Linked DNA regions of Homo sapiens: region 1 is linked to region 2. Evidence: promoter capture Hi-C in 16 types of primary human blood cells and fetal thymus (Javierre and others, 2016). All regions are on one chromosome and are shown on one strand. The core of a region is centred on a gene start or on the middle of the fragment in contact, and the rest is flanking DNA. Distances in the headings are between cores, read along the strand shown. Region 1 overlaps MCC (MCC regulator of Wnt signaling pathway). Region 2 holds the start of MCC (MCC regulator of Wnt signaling pathway).

Region 1 (5,274 bases), core at 2,482-4,981, 110 kb after region 2:
TATGGACACAGACACACATGTACACAGAAGATAAAACATGTAGCTATGTGTAAAAATTCTTTATAAAACATGAAAATGGGATAGCATATGGAAGCAGGGTGATGAGCTAAAAAGGCTGGTGGCATAGGCCTGGCATAAATTGAAAGGTCTTGGAGTCTTTTACATTTATTTAGAAACACCATAAAGAGCAAGTATAAAAGCATTTCGGGGAGAAGACTAACCTAAATTTGATGATAACTCAGACCCTGGAAACTTGGGGAAGGGGACAAGGGCAGAGGTGGGGGAGGGGAGTGCAGGGCACAGAATTAGGGATAAGGAGGAGTGAATGAGAAGATATTAAAAATGCCCACAATTTTGTGAGCCTAGGGAATTTGAGAGAGACCATAGTGACATTGACCAGGAGATAGAATTTGTGAAGGGTGACTTGAAGAGTGGTCTTAGCATGATTAGGTTTCAGGTATCAGCAAACATCAAACTGGTTATATTCTCCAGATAACTGAACTTTGGTAGTATGTTGAGACAGGCACACTAATTAGCTTTGTTTGTGACAATGAACAAATTTCTAATGTCTCTTCCAGCACTTAAATTCTACAGTCCTTTGACCTTTGTTGAAACCTGCAGTTGGAGGAATATGAGCAAAATATTTGCTAAAGGAGGTTAGGTAGAGAGAAAAGAACAAGACTTGTATGTCAGGGATCAAACCGATGTCCTCCACATAAATGTTCTTGGTCAGCATAGGGTTATTGTTCTTGTTATTCTTTTTGAAATTCTTTTTTATTTTTCTTTTTTTAAATTTGAGACTCTATAGGCTGGATACACTTCTCTAGTCCAGCCACAGACCCCACCAAGCCCTCTTATCTTAGATCTATCCACTGCACACATTTACATTAAATCTAGTCCTGGAAGACATTGAGATTTTGATCCCTGCTCTTAGTCTTAGGGCTCACTGATTGCTTGTGGGAAGGTGGAAAATACTCAAAAGCAGGAAAAACCAAAGGTAGCTAAGCATTGAACCACGAAAGTCAAGATTAAATGATGTTTTAAACAAGTACTAAAGTTAGCTGATTGGTCCAGAAAGCTGAAAATCAAGCTTGTTAAAATCTCTGTTGGTTCTTTTATAACTTGACTAGGTTTTGGACTCTGCCAAGAGTAGAAATAATGTCTGTTCTATGTTCTGAAACTTTATCTTACAGTGAGATTACAGTGCTATGCTCTTCAGGTGTAAAGAAAGAACTTTATAATCCTCAATTTCAAAACAAAGAAAGGGAGAGAAGGGTGTGGAAACAGGAAGAAAAAGAGAACAAAAGATTAAAAGTTGCCTCACCATTCCAAATAATAGAGTTTTTGTTTAGAATAACCCAAATGGAACACGTTTTTTTCATACACTTATCACTTTTCTAGAAACAATGAGAAAGTTGAAAATAGGTCTAGTATGTGAATATATTTAAGAAATACCTTTTTTTTTTCATTAACCAGTTTCTCTAGCTTAAATGTCACTCATAACACATTTTCTTCTGTTCAACCCCTTCTGCAGAAATGACTTGCTAATGGTCTGTCGCCAGCTGAATATGGAAGAGTCTGTGGCTGAGATCATGAACCAGTTGGGAGCAGATGAAAATGGGAAGATTTCCTTTCAGGATTTCACAAGATGCCGCATGCAGCTTGTTCGAGAAATTAGGAAGGAGGAAGTAGATCTTTCTGCAAAGTCAGACAACTCCTGTACAAAGAAGCTGAGGGATAGAATTGCTTCCTGGCCCACGAGCAGTGACAACAGTTTGGGTAGGTATAACCAGGTGGCAGTTTTATGGCACTCCACTGGCCTTGCCTGTGATCTCTCATTAAATGAGAGTAGCCTCCCCATCATGAGGCCACAGCCTCAGCTCATACTGAGGCTGCCCTCCTGGCCACACTTTCCCTGGGGGAGTGCTCACTGTTTCCCCCAGTTCTGTCTGATGGCTTCACACTTCCCAGCTTGCTGCTTTCTTTATTTTGCTTCTTCCATTTTCTAAGTATAATAATGCATTCAAGTAGCTATTATGGAAGAAGGGCAAATGCATAAGAAAGGTAGTAACTGCATCAGCAGGCCTCAGAAGCTCTTTGGGGAGGAAGTTTCAAGGTTACATGCAGAGGCTTTTAAAAGCAATTTTTTTGGGGGGCGGGGGACGGAGTCTTGCTCTGTTGCCCAGGCTGGCGTGCAGTGGCGGGATCTCGGCTCACTGCAACCTCTGCCTCCCGGGTTCCCGCCTTTCTCCTGCCTCAGTCTCCTGAGTAGCTGGGACTACAGGCACCTGCTACCACGCCCAGCTAATTTTTTGTATTTTTAGTAGAGACGGGGTTTCACCGTATTAGCCAGGATGGTCTTGATCTCCTGACCTCGTGATCCACCTGCCTTGGCCTCCCAAAGTGCTGGGATTACAGGTGTGAGCCGCTGCGCCTGGCCTAAAAGCAATTTTTTAAATTTAAGATTAAAATCGTTTTCTATAAAGATGGTTTTTCTGTTCATAAGTTTATATTTCTTACTGGTGCAAGATAAGCAGTTGGAAAGAAAGTTCTTAATACTGTTGATAATTATTGAAATTGGGTGATGGGAACATGGGGTTTCTTGTATATATTTTTGAATACTCAGTTATACATATTTTTTAGTATGTTTGAGATTTTACATAATAAAAAGTTAAAAAGGAAAGAAAGGAGACATCTTAAAGGGTAGCCTTGACAAAGAGACGGAAGAAAGTATCTGAATTTTCAGGGTTTGTTTTTCCTTGAAAATGTGTCTTTGATCTCATTGTTTCTCTGCTAGGTAGATCTATTGGCAAGAAGTAAAGGGTCATGTTGGTTGTCCCTGTCCAAATGAGCATAGATAATTGTGTAGTGCCACATACACACACATCTTTAAACAATGCTTCTTATTATTGAGTAATGGAAACAATAAAAATGTCCACATACACTCCATGCGTTACTACCTTCATATATTCTACTTTAGCAGCAAATCAGATGTCTGGTAATGCATGTGCTCTTAACATAATATGTAGAAATACTTAATATTGAAATACAAACTTTCTGAGTATTCAAGTAATATATGTTCATTATAAAAAAACACGGGGAAAAAAAGGCAAGCAGAAGAAAATAAAAATCATACTAATCCTACCACCTGGAAATAATAACTACTGCCTACGTTTGATATACTTACTTCTGGAATCTTTTCCTCTCCCTCTGTCTCTCTCGTCATGTGTGTGATTTGTGTTTTACTAATTTTTCCACATATCTTCTGCATATTTTGTATCTTGCAGTTTTTCTTTTGCATTTTCTTCATGCTTTTAATGGTATTTGAAAGCATGATTCGTAAGTTTGCATGACACAAAATAGACACTCAGTAAATATTTATTAAATGATGAAATGAAGGAATTTTTTCTGCTAAGCTGTATTTTCAGATTTTTCTGCCAAGAACATGGATTTCTTCTATAAACACATAAGTGTACACACATACATAGTTGAAGTGTTAAGTACATTGTGGAACACCCCAACCAATAATTGCATACTATATAGCATTAAAATAATGTGTAAATGTGTATCAAAATATGTACACAGAAGGAAATTTTTTGTGAAAAAAAATTGTTTATGTGTAGTAGATATTTATAAAAATCCTAAAAGGAACTGGTTTGAAAGAATTGCTGCACACATCTAATTGGTTTGACCAGCTTGGAAGACTGTCCTGACCAGAGAAAGGATTGAAAAACAATACCCTTTCATCCTTTTATATAACCTTATACCCTTGGGAAAAGAGGTGGTAACTGACAGGAGGTGATTCATAAAACATGTCCTGAACTGAGGAAGTGCCAGCGGCTGTGAAACCTCCTACCACTTTCTCCTGGTAGTTAAGAGTTCAGAGTCAGACTATTTGAGTGAGAATCCTGTTTCTGATGCTTACTGTCTACATGACACTAGACAAATTATTTAACCTCTCTGTGTCTCATTTTCCTCAAATGTAGAATGGGGGCAGTTGTTATTTGGGGGAATAAAGGAGCTAATATATATGTAAAGTCCATAAAGCAATGCCCCACACATAATCACTAAATACGTGTTAAACTAATATTCTTATTATTATTACCACCCGGTTTTAAGTCCTGGGGATTGGGAAAACAACTCCCTATTCAGCCTAACGTAAATCAAATACATCCAAAAATTGACACTAATTAGGCTGGGCACCATGGCTCACACCTGTAATCCCAGCACTTTAGGAGGCCGAGGCGGGAGGATCACTTGAGGTCACAAGTTTGAAACTAGCCTGGGCAACGTACAAAAAATTTAAAAGTTAGCCAGGTGCAGTGGTGCATGCCTGTTGTCCTAGCTACTCAGGAGGCTGATATGGAGGAGTTACTTGAGCCCAAGAGTTAGAGGTTGCAGTGAGCTATGATTACACCACTGCACTCCAGCCGGGGTGATAGAGTAAGACCCTGTATCCAAAAAAAAAAAAAAAAAGGACAATAATTAGATAAAGATATACATGTTCAATTAGTCCTTCTCTTTTCTATACTATTAACCTCTCCTTCTGACTCTATTTAGGTAAACTCCAGGATCTCCCTTCTGGGGGTGGAGGGAAACCCTCTCTTGACTTTGTGTCCCCATTAGTACTGCCTTATTTCTCTGACCCTTTCTTCAGTGAACTCTTACCATCTTCAGTCCTCACCACTCTGCTGGCCCTGCTCTTGCTGCCTCCATGTTGGCAATCCAAAGATTCCTTTTCTGCCCACATCTAAATCTTTGGATTTTGACCCAGCTGACCACTCCTTCATGCTAGCTATACTTTATTCTCTTGGACTTCTTGACACCATGTTCTCCTGTTTACCATTTTAGCTTCCCTTTCTCAGCCTATACTACTTCCAAATTTGGAGGTGCCTTGGGGTTACATTCTCTCCTTAGATGATTTCTTGTGGTCCCATGGGTTTATTTATTTATTTATTTGAGTCAGGATCTCACTCTGTCACCCAGGCTGGAGTGCAGTGGTGCAATCATGGCTCACTACAGCCTCAACCTCCTGGACTCAAGTGATCCTCCTGTCTCAGCTTCCCAAGTAGCTGGAACTACAGGCATGCACCACCAGGCCCAGCTAATATTTTGTATTTTTTTGTGGAGATGGGTTTCACTATGTTGTCCAGGATAGTCTCAACTCTTGGACTCAAGCCATCTTCCTGCCTCAGCCTCCCAGAGTGCTGAGATTACAGGCAAGCACCACCATGCCGAGCTTGGTCGTATGGTTTTAAATACTAGTTTTGTACC
Region 2 (5,659 bases), core at 1,002-3,501:
ATAGTTCCATCAGCATTCTGATTATGACCATTTAACCAATTTCTAAGGAGTTCCAAACTTTCCCTGTTCTTCCTGTCTTCTCAGCCCTCACTAGAACCTAGGCTTTTTCTAGACTGCTGCTTCATTCTTGTAGCCTCTGCTCATTATCCAGTTTCAAAGCTGCTTCTCCATTTTCAGGTATTCGTTTTCGTTAACACCCCACTCCCGGTACTAATTTCTGGTCTTGTCAATTTTCTGTTGCTTAGAACAGACTACCTGAAACTAGGGTGATTTATAAAGAAATGAATTTATTTCTTACAGTTCTGGAGAATGAAAAGTCCAAGGTCAATGGGCCACCCTGCTGGTGGGGACTCTGTGCAGAGTCCCAAAACAGTGCAGGGCATCACATGGCAAGGGGGCTGAGCCTGCTAACTCAGGTCTCTCCTTCTCTTCTTATAAAGTCACTAGTCCCACTCCCATGATAACCCATTAACTCATTAACTCATGAATCTATGATTTTAGTGCCCTGAAATACTGGGAACTTAGAGAATAATAAAGAAGTAAAGTAGGAATAGGTAGATGGGGTGGAGAGGAGGAGAAAGAGAGCAGAGATTCCTTCCTTCTGACCTAGCAGACATTCCCAAGACATATGGACTTGTTCCAGTTATATATTGCTGCATAACAAATCACCTCAAAACTTAATGGCTTAAAACAACAATTTTTAATTATTATCTTCACAGCTCTGGGGGTTGGTTAGCCAGTTTTGCTCAGGGTCTCCAATGCAGTTGCAGCATCTAGAGCTAGCATCATCTCTCACTCATGTCTGGCACCTAGTCTGGGAAGATTCTAAGATCCAGGGCTAGAACAGCTGTAGCTCTTTGGTCATCTCCTTTTTTCTTTACATGGTCTTTCTGCATGGTTTCTCCAGCTTCAGGGTAGCCAAACTTCTTTTCAGGCAGCTCAAGGCTTCAAAGGTAAGTGTCCCAAGGGAGAGAGCCAAGTGCAATCTGCATTGCCTTTTCTAACCTAGTCTCAGAAGTCAAGGCAGTCACAAGTCCAATCCAGGTTTAGGGGAAGCAACAGACTCCACCTCTTGATGAGGGGTGCACCAAAGAATCTGTGGACATATTTTAAAACCACCAGAGAACTTCACACGCCTCTCTGGCAGAAAATCCAGGACAGAATAATGAGTCATTCACGAAACCACAAATTGCTTCACTGTGGTTTCCCTTTGGCTATGGGGGAATAGTGCAGTGTTTAAAGGCTCCTGCTCTGGAGTTAGGCTGCCCGGGCTTGCCTCTGCCCTAACACTTACTAAACCTGGAACCTTGAGCAGGTCTTGGTACCTCAGTTTTCTTACCTGTAAATTGGGAACAATGAGAGCTAACAGTTGTTGAGCACTTACTAGGTGTCAGACATTGTCCTAACTGCATTATGTCTGCTCTCCTTTTATATGTAAGATAACTCTATGAGGTACTTATCTATTAATACTTCCTAAGTCGTAGGATTGATAATAAAAGAGGCATCTTCCAGGTCTGTAGTGTGGATCAAATGAGACCATCTATTATGTTCGCTCTTGGCATTATTAAAGCTGTTGGGGGAAATTCTAGTGATGCCTGGCCAGTAGAGTGAGCCGTTTCCAGAAATTGACCCAACGTACACAATGCCACACAGCGTGCAGACTCTTCCCAGTACAGAGTGGGAGCCAAGATGAGGGCTGCGAGGGCCAGGTTTCTTGACAGGTGTCAAAATTTCATAAAAAGGCCAGTCATTCCGGTTCTCATTGGTGGCTATGGGTACAGAACCCGGAACAATCCTGGAGAGTGGGATTACAAGCACCGTTTTGAGTTTGCAGAAGGAGAGTGTTTATATAGCTTCTCTGGAAAAGGAAGCCATGACTCCGGGCGGTCGGAGAAGGTCTGCCGGGAGTACACCTGCCCTCTGCCTGAAGCGTCCCCAAGTGTCCCGGGCCCGCGTCGTTGCCGGATGCACAATGCTGACACCCTTCCCGGGGGCTTCCAGTGTATTCTGCCTCCTCTTGTGTTCCCGTTGCCACCCTTAGCTCCCTGACTCTTCCAGCCACCTTCCCCTCCTCCCTCTTCCCTGAGGTGCCTCCTCGGGCGATTCCAGAGCGCCCATCTTCCCAGTCCGGGCAAAACCCGGAGAGGTGGAATCCCTCGCCCGGAGCGCCCCGGCGGCCACTGGGCATGCTCCGTTGTCAGGCAAGTTCGGGGCTGCAGGCAGCTTGCGCGCCGCGCGGATTCCAGCTGCGGTCGCGCGTACTCCTCCTCCCAAGTAGGGAGCGGGCGCATGATGGCGGCCGCGGCGGCAGCGGCTGCGGGGAGCTCCAGCAGCGGCGGCGGCGGCGGCGGCAGCGGCAGCAGCAGCAGCAGCAGCGACACGTCCAGCACCGGCGAGGAGGAGAGGATGCGGCGCCTCTTCCAGACGTGCGACGGCGACGGGGACGGATACATCAGCAGGTACGCGGGGAGGTACGAGGAAACCGACAGGAGCGAGATCAGTCCCTCCGCGCGCCCTTGACCCCTGCTCTGCCCCCTCGCCCCAACTTGCGGCAAGTTGCTCAGAAGCTCGCGGGAAAAGTTGGCCGCGACTCCGAGAGCGCGTAGCCGGCTCGGCCACGAAGGCCGAGGGGACTGCTCTGTTCGCCTTGCGGGGGTGCCAGTTGGTCCAACTTTTCCCAGCGCTGTCTTTGTCTAGGCGTTGGGAGACATCTCCTTAGGATGCGCACTCTTCCGGGGGCTTGGAGTGTTCTTCCCTGTGGGAAAAGGAGTTCTGGCCGCTTGTCCCAGGTAGGAGGGGCTGCCCCACAGCCTCGGGGTCCTGGGCATCAAGATGCCGCAGCACGGGGCAGCGATCTGCCCGGCGGCTTGGTGGACACCCCAGGGCCGCACCGGGAGGAGATGAGCTAAGCGACAGCCTCGGACAGGGAAATAACCTGTGAAGAAACTTTCTTGTGCCGCAGAACCCATGAATTCCAAACTTCAGAGCCCAAAGAATGGGTATCGTTTGCCACCCAGTATTGATTTAAACGCAGTAGCCTGAGAGGAACGAAGCGCTCAGGAGCAAACTAGGGCTAGACCCGACTCCTACCCGGCTCTGTGCGCTGACCAGGTGAGCTTCGGCGTGGCTCCGGGCGCCTCCGCGCCTCCACTCACAAACAAACTTTGGGGTGTTTGCTTCGGATCCCCCGCACTTCCTACAGAGGCGGTATTTAAGCTTCCTGCCTCCCGGCTTGGCCAAATAATTACTTCTGCCCAAATTTGTGTCACTTAGACTCTTGTGGTGAAGAAGGCAATCGCAACATTTTCTGGTATGCTTCTATTGAATGGTTGACACCGGCCATTGAAGACTTGGTATCCGTGGAAATTTGAATTGCCTTGGATGAAGGAGCAGCCTAAGTTGTGCATTACATGTTTCTTTAGTCTATGTCTTGGTGATGCTAAAGATCGTTTCTGAAAATCCGGGGCTGCTTCCTGATTGTCCCTGCCTACCTAAAAAAAAAAAAAAGAAAGCAAAGTGCGGAATTTTTCCCTTAAAATAAAAAAAATTATTTATTTGGGACTCAACGCAATTTTGATCATTCTTAGGTGAATTTTTATTACTTTGCTAAAGTTTTACTGAGAAACATTAGGAAGATATCAGAAAACTTGATGGAGTAATTCTGTTCGGAAATGAAAATAATATGTAATTCTGATTGACTCCATGCAAATTTCTATCTGGAAGTCTCGTTATTTTGGTTCTGGGAGTAAAAGAAATTTCATTATATAGTTTTCCTTTTTGTTGTTTTCCTACTTGAAAGGTTATTATCTCATTTGCAATAATAAAGGCAAACTCCAACTTTGGATACAATTTTTTTTTTTTTTAGACAGAATCTCGCTCTATCACCCAGGCTGGAGTACAGTGGCGTGGTCTTGGCTCACTGCAACCTCCGCCTCCTGGTTCAAGAGATTCTCCTGCCTCAGCTTCCCGAGTAGCTGGGATTACAGGTGCCCACTACCACTCCCGGCTAATTTTCGTATTTTTAGTAGAGAAGGGGCTTCACAATTTGGCCAGGCTGGTCTCGAATTCCTGACCCTAAGTGATCCGCCCGCCTCGGCCTTAGGAAGCGCTGAGATTACAGGCCTGAGCCACCGCTCCCCGCATGGATGCAAAAAAGTTTAATTTCACACGGGCAAGAGTGCATACAGAAAACTAGCAGCGTGCTATCCTTTTCTAATTTGGCCTATTAATATATTGCTTTATCTGAACTACACTTTCTATATAAATGCTCACATTATTTTCGGTGATTCTACCCGGGAGGATAATGAATTCTGTAAGCGTAATTTGAGTAAAGTGGGTGGTGATAAAGAAGCCGTTTTGGATTAGAGTAGAAACTGGCTGGGGCAAAAGTGGAAAAAGTTGTTAACATTCCTTGAGCTGCATTACTTTAATGTGTCTGCTTAAAAGTTTCAAGGTATGTGTAGTAATGAACCCTAAATCATAACTTTAACTGTGGGTGGAGCTGCCCTGAAAATTATGCTGTGGCAGAATTGCCATGTAGGAGAAGTTTAGGGATGGCAATCTAGGGCAACAAGGAACTTGTCTGGAAGTGTGTTTACCTGGTAAGCACAGTTTTACCTGGAATTTACGTTTATGTGGTAAGACTTGGGGAATGGGGCTAATGAAGGTAAGGGGCATTAAATGATTCCCTCTCTGAAGCCACTTTTCTGTGCTGCTTTCATTTAATGACCTGTACTTACCACTCTGTAGTGGGTGATGTGGTTTGGAGGGTTGTGCATTCCTGTTCTATCAGACATGAGAGTTGGACTTTTTAACATTAAAACCTTAAAAACTTTGGATTCATCTAAAGACGTTAAATTTATGTTCCTGGTAGACAGCTGTATCTGTTAGAATTTCAGATGACTATATGTCATCACAGTAACCTAACCATAGTCAAGTAAGGGTTGGCTTTGTCACCTAGTAGAAATCTGGAGGTAGGCTATCTAGGTTGGGGCAGCAGCTCTGCGGTGGTGTCAGTCCCCAGCTACCTTCTACCTTTCTCCAACACCATTTTTCACATAAAGCATTCATCCTCATGGTTATCTCATAGTCCAAAGGTGATTGCCCTGTCTCCCTCTTCATCCCCAAATTCTAGGGAAGAAGATGTAAAAGGAAGTGGAAATAAGTTGTGCCTGTATCATTAAAGCAGAGCTTTCCCAAATCCCTTAATTGACATCTTATTGGTCAAACTACATCACTTAACCATGCCTACTTCAGTAGAGTCCGAGGAAGCATATAATTCAACTAGGCACATTACCTCCTAAACAAAATCTGGGTTCTGTTACTAAGAGCAGGAAATAGATATTGGGTGGGCAAGTAGCGGTTAATACCTATAATAAACCCCCCATCCCATGATAATCCACATTCAAGTATATTTGCTCTGGTCCTCCGCTGAACCCTCATTCTAAACAGGAGTAGGCTGGAAATCTTAAGTGTGGGGGAAGGATAAGTGGAAGAGAAACTGGGCCGTGAGGGGAAATGTCAGGGAGGTAAGGGGTGGTGCTTTGTGCTTTCAATATTCTCTTGGCCCAGTCTTCCTATCAGGCTGACAAAAAAGGCATCAGCTAACTAGATTCTTGGAATTGCTGCTTCTGCCAAGGAACTTTAGCCTATAAAAGGG

The links. The method cuts DNA at HindIII sites, captures the fragments that hold promoters and counts their contacts. A CHiCAGO score of 5 or more calls a contact.
Region 1: a contact is called between a fragment that was not itself captured here and the fragment with the promoter of MCC in region 2, in 1 of 17 cell types (endothelial precursors). The highest score is 6.0, in endothelial precursors.

Annotation. Positions count from the first base shown.
Region 1 is chr5:113,381,473-113,386,746 of GRCh38, reverse strand. MCC (MCC regulator of Wnt signaling pathway) reads left to right here. Exons shown (of 19, transcript NM_001085377.2): 2 at 1,535-1,779. Among named protein-coding and RNA genes, the nearest start is that of TSSK1B, 51 kb to the left of the region's middle. The HindIII fragment of the contact is 5,277 bases long and covers 1,093-5,274 here.
Region 2 is chr5:113,485,045-113,490,703 of GRCh38, reverse strand. It overlaps MCC (MCC regulator of Wnt signaling pathway), which reads left to right and starts at 2,251. Exons shown (of 19, transcript NM_001085377.2): 1 at 2,251-2,459. The coding sequence starts at 2,290. RefSeq lists an enhancer at 2,058-2,352. The HindIII fragment of the contact is 3,844 bases long and covers 1-3,218 here.